2 separate regions of the Homo sapiens genome follow, and region 1 is linked to region 2. Evidence: promoter capture Hi-C in 16 types of primary human blood cells and fetal thymus (Javierre and others, 2016). All regions are on one chromosome and are shown on one strand. Each heading gives the region's core, a stretch centred on a gene start or on the middle of the fragment in contact. The rest is flanking DNA. Distances are from core to core; before and after follow the strand shown. Region 1 holds the start of SPATA41 (spermatogenesis associated 41). Region 2 holds the start of TTC23 (tetratricopeptide repeat domain 23).

Region 1 (2,801 bases), core at 62-2,561, 1.1 Mb after region 2:
CCGTCACTGTGATAATTGTTGTCGTCGTTGAAACCACCCAGCCCGAAAGCAGCATGGGCTGTGCCCAGAGCCGCCGTGCCAGAAGCCCACGCTTAGAAATAGAGGGCCGAAGACCAAAGAGGACTGCGGGTTCTTGGGCCAAACGTGACCCTCTCAAATCCCCCAACTCGGGGATTTCGTTAGCTGGGGACTGGTGTGCCCGGGTTCCAAGACCCCTGCGTAGACTCTGTCTATAGGTGGAAGAAGGCCTTTGCCCCGAGGCATCCAGAGGTAACGGTGAGAGGAACAAGGGCACGTGGGGGATCCCACCACAGCCTCCCCTGAGACCCTCTTCACGCTGGTTGCAGGAGTAGCCAACCCCGCTCCCTGGCAGCCCGTGAGATGCCACATCCCCTCCAGCAGGGGGCGGCCGGCATCGGTCCCGTCTTCCTAAACCGGCGTTGGTGGGAAATGCCGGCACCAGCTCCCTCCCCGCTCCAGAGCCCTGTTTTCCCCATTTGTATTTCACTACTTTCCTGTTGAGCTTGGATTCCAGCCTCAAATTCCGCGATTTGGCCGGCATCCTAATCCCCGAGTGACTCTTGCCAACCACTCTCTGTGGGGCCTGTGTGCTTCCTCCTGGGTTCTGGGGCGCTGGCGGCGTCCGCTTCACCGGGAACGGGAGCCCCAGCCTCCCGAGGCCTTCCTGCCTGGCTCTGGGAATGGCCACTGTCCAGAAAGCCCCGCGGCCGTCCATGCTCGCTCGCTCAGTCAGGCCCTTGTGGGGATATTGCAGAACGAGTCCGAGTTACTATCCCTTTAAATACAGGCGTTTCGGCCTAGCTGCCGCCGGTCCAATCCGCAGCGCTTCCGTGCCCCACTTTCCCGCGTCAGCCTGGCTCCGGCCTCCACCAGGGGGTGCTAGTGAGATCCCAGCCAGCCTCAGAGCTGAGCGTCCAGGGCCTTCAAATGTCCCCATCCTTGAAAAGGCAACTCCAGTGGCATCTTCTGCGGGGAGACCAGAAGCAGCATCTGACGAGGAGACAGCACTGGCGGTCCCGACACAACTGAATCGGCAGGATGAGGGCCCTTAGTGTTAGGCACCGGCGGAGCTGCATCCCACCCCGTCTCGTCCCCTGAGAACAGCTGTGAGAAGCCGCCTATTTTTCATCGTTCTGCAACACACCTTTCCCTTCCTTGGGATATTTCTCCTCTTTCAGCATTGCCGCATCAGGGTTCCAAAGCCCCGTTTCTCTCCTAGTTCTTTCTTTGCTCAAGAAAAGCAGCTTGTCTGATAAACTAAGCTATGTATGATTCGCTGCCAGTACAGACTGAAAAACAAAATAAACTCCCAATTCACAGTCCTCCGTTGCGTAACAGTGAGCAGACGTTCTGAGAAATGCATCGTCAGGCAATTGCATCATTGTGCAAACAATATAGAGTGTACTTACCCAAACCTAAACAGCACAGCCTACTACACACCCAGGCTGTAGGCTGTGCTTCTAGACTACAAACCTGTACAGTGTGGTACTGAACACTGTAGGCAACTGTAACACAATGGTAAGTATTTGTGTATCTAAACATAGAAAAGATACAGTAAAAATATGGTATGAAAGATTGAAACTGGTGCACCTGCCTAGGGCACCTACCGTAAGCTTGGAGCTTACGGGACTGAAAGTTGCTCTGGGTGAGTCAGTAAGTGAGTGGTGAGTAAATACGAAGGCCTAGGACATTACTGTACACTACTGTAGACTTTAAAACCCTGTACACTAGGCCCACACTCAATTTATTTTTAAAAATTTTCTTTCCTTCAATAATATATTCACTTTAGCTTACTGTAACTTTTCTACCTTAAGAATTTTTAAATTTTTTGACTCTTTTAATAACAGCTTGAATACACAAACACATTGTACAGCTATACAAAAATATTTTCATTCTTCATATCCTTATTCTATAAGCTTTTTTCCTACTTTTGAAGTTGTTTATTTTTTACATTTTAAACTTTTTGTCAAATATTAAGACACAAACACACATTAGCCTAGGCCTATACAGGGTCAGGATCATCAATACCACTGTCTTCTGCTTTCACATCTTGTCCCACTGGAAGGTCTTCAATGGTAATAACACACATTCTTAGTAAATGCAAATAGTCATGGCTCAGACTGATATAGTAATGATAGACTATTCAATATGTGGTATTGGACAGCTGTTTATATATTTGTACGAACCTAAGTTAGATTCTGTGGTGGTTCAAAAATATATCCTCTAATTATGACCTGCTTCCCTTCAACAGGTGTACCTAATTCCTCTGCCTAGAAAGTGTGCTGGAATTACTGCCTGGCTTCTGATGAATAGGGCGTATTGAGAGTGATGCTTTGTGAGTTCTGAGGCTAGGTCATAGAAAGGATTGAACTTATTCCTGAATGTTGCTCTTGGATCACTTGCTTTTTTGGGAACCACCAGCCATGTCATGAGGACACTCAAGCAACCCTGCAGAGAAGCACATGTGTGGAGAGGCACTTCTTGGAAAGGAGGCCAACTTGCCAGAACCAACTAATTTGTCATGTGAGTGAGTCATTTTGGAAGCAGATCCTCTACCCTCAGTCAGGCCTTCCGATGATTTCAGCCCCCAGCCTTTGAGTCTGCCCCAAACACCATGAGTAGAGACAAGCCCTTCCCACTGTGTCCACCCTGGCTGAATTCCAGACCGTTAAAAAAACAAGAGAAAATAAATTATTATTAGTGTTTTGAGTCACTAAGTTTTGGACTAATTTGTTATGCAGCAATAGCTAACAACTACAGAGTCATAACACAAACTAAAA
Region 2 (2,749 bases), core at 250-2,749:
AGAAGTAAACTCAATGCTTTCGAAGACTACAAAGAAGTGCATCAAAATTTATATTATTCAACAATGATAAGGTAAATGTATTCGGGTAAGAAGCATGGTTACTAACCTGTGTGCCAGTATTTACACAGCATGGGGCCCCTTAGCTTCTGGTCTCTGCTCTGGTCTAGCCATCTTAAATTCCACTGTCAGTTTTATTGTCTTCAAATATTACTTTCATAAGGGGTGCCTCCTGTTCCAAACACAGGACCCAAACCCCTGATTTTGGGAATTCCGGCTCTTTATATTTCTCATGCTGCTTTTTAAAATTTGTAACCAAAGTTTCCAAATGAACCTTCTGCCGCAGTCAGAACCAACTCTTCCTCAGGCTGCATGTATTTGCTAACAACTCACTCACTAGTAGGGATGCCACTTCCCTTATTTTTCTCTCTGAAATTCTGCCCATTGCTCAGGCCCAAATTGAGTCTTACCCATACTGTGAAGCCTTCTCTGAATAATTCATCTCACATTGAGCTGAGCTCCTGAAGCACCTGTGCTCTACAACAGTCATCCGGGCATTAAGAACTGTTCAGAAGTTTTAGTTTAAATGTTCTGAGCCTCATTTGTCCCTGCTCTTGAGGGGCTGGATTTTATTACTTTATATTCCCCTATATGGATTAACACAGGCAACTTAAGAAATAGTCATGTTCATCAACGTTTCCTTGATAAATTCTTTTGTATTTGTTTTAATTAAAAATGTCATTTTTGAAATATGATTGCTGGATTTTTTTGAGAATTTACCCTTACATGCTGATTCTGCTTCAGGTATCTGTAGTATGTTTTGTTCAGCCATTAGCAGATCTGTCCCTGGAATCCCTAATCCACAAATATACACAAAATTTGGGTTCAAGCAACTCTATTTTCTCCTATATCTTTTAATAGATATATTATCTATTATGCCAGGTATGACAATATATAAACAAAAATATCCATATAAAAATTACAATATTACTAAATGTCCTTCTAAATCCACACTTAAGCAACAATAACGAAGCACAGTTTCTTAAAGTAGAAAATGATCTATAGTTAATCTTATTATCTTGCCTCCTTTACCTTTCAAAAATCCACTGATAATCTGGGCATGATGCTTTCAAACTTCACCCTAAAGAGAAAAATGCTCTCTGAACACTCTTCTTCCTGCTGTCTTTAAATTGTGCCTGTATTTTCTCTGCTTTTCCTTTGACACTCAATCACTCCTTTAAAACTTGTAAAAAACCGGAAAAGTTTCTGTAACTCTCCAATCTCCAACTATGTCGTAAAATCCCTTGCCAGTTTACCCAGTCTGCTGGAGAGGCTCACCGTTTCTTTTTCGAGCGAATTACACAGTTGTCTTGGCAGCGTGATTTGCCCTCTGGTTCCTGCTTTATCAGTTTGGTGATTCTTTGTACAGATTGATAACCATGAAAAAGTCTAAAGTAGGGCAGTTCCGGAGCAGCCTTTTCCCATAAAGCAAGCGGGTACCTCACAAAACTCCAGGCAAAAGAATGAATGATAGAGCACTCACCAATAGCGAGTGGAGAAGAGTATTTTGTCGAAGTTTGCAAACCAATCTTTGGGAGCCAGAGGTGGGAATTTTAAAATGAGGTCTTTTCCTTGGAATTTTCTTAAAGTGGTATCGTTGCCTGTTGATATTGAAGTTTGTCAAAGAACGTGAAATCACCAGCTTAGAGGATTTTTTTCCCCTTTAAGAGAGACAAAACGTGCGAATTGATTCTCTACAAATTGTGAGAACTTCAAGAGTGGGGTCATAAAGTATTATCAAATATAATCACTTGGTAACTTTTGTGTCAATGTGGGGAGGAGGTGAAGGTTATTTTAACATGATTCATTTTTCATGATCAAATATCAGATATTAATCACTGAAAAACAGTATTCCCCATTAAAAAAAAGAAATGAAAACTAAGAGGCTAACATTGTTTTCAAAAAACTGTTCTACTGTTAATCTTTTTTCTTTTTTGGGGGGTGTAACTCTTCATATATTAGCAGCAAGTCTTATTATTTGGGCTGACCATTAAACACCGTATCTTTGTTTTTACACAAAATGTGGATTTCCTCATTTTAAGACCAGCAAAAAATTTCTGAGTGCCACGAATTCTTAGGTATTCCGAAACTATCTTAGAAATACATGACATATACCAACCATGCTGTATACCTGAATAGCTCTTGAAGACCAGATTTAATAGATAACTGATAATTTTTATTATAACTCATACCTTGTTTTAAAACCAATGTTTTTTATTTAATATAACTCTGCTTTCTAGGTTATTCGTCTCTATGAATAATTAAGTCAGCAACTGTAAAAACTACTTCATTATAAAGTTAAAGTTCCTTGACAAGGAGCCTCGCAAACTCATAGACAGGCTTTCCACAGAACAAAAAATATCAGCGGTTGTAGTAGAGGATTATACTTTAAAATCTTCATTTCAGAAGGAAATTTGTCATATTAATGAGACACTTTAAAAAGTGTCTTTTAAAAATGTTTCCGAACTATGCTTCCAAGTATTTTTAACAGCATAAAGCCCTCTTTCATGCTATTTCGCTGACATAATAATTTTCGTCTTGAAGAAATACATATTGACGGCCTACTCAGTCAGGCTAGGAAGTGTCATTGTATTTAACTCTCTAAATTGTTCCTGACCTTTTTAGCAATCTTTACTCAAAATAAACCTTGGGTGTTTGAAGGGCAGAGACTAGGTTACGTCCTCCTCATCTT

The links. The method cuts DNA at HindIII sites, captures the fragments that hold promoters and counts their contacts. A CHiCAGO score of 5 or more calls a contact.
Region 1: the fragment with the promoter of SPATA41 here is called in contact with the fragment with the promoter of TTC23 in region 2 in 3 of 17 cell types (naive CD8 T cells, activated CD4 T cells and fetal thymus); the score reaches 9.0 in naive CD8 T cells.

The regions. Positions count from the first base shown.
Region 1 is chr15:100,349,407-100,352,207 of GRCh38, forward strand. It overlaps SPATA41 (spermatogenesis associated 41), which reads right to left and starts at 1,312. Exons shown (of 2, transcript NR_028139.1): 1 at 1-1,312. It overlaps LOC105371021 (a long non-coding RNA gene), which reads left to right and starts at 200. Exons shown (of 3, transcript XR_007064777.1): 1 at 200-276; 2 at 969-1,539; 3 at 2,273-2,738. RefSeq lists an enhancer at 480-739. The HindIII fragment of the contact is 2,620 bases long and covers 1-1,632 here.
Region 2 is chr15:99,248,082-99,250,830 of GRCh38, forward strand. It overlaps TTC23 (tetratricopeptide repeat domain 23), which reads right to left and starts at 1,500. Exons shown (of 14, transcript NM_001288615.3): 1 at 1,090-1,500. The HindIII fragment of the contact is 13,098 bases long and covers 1-2,749 here.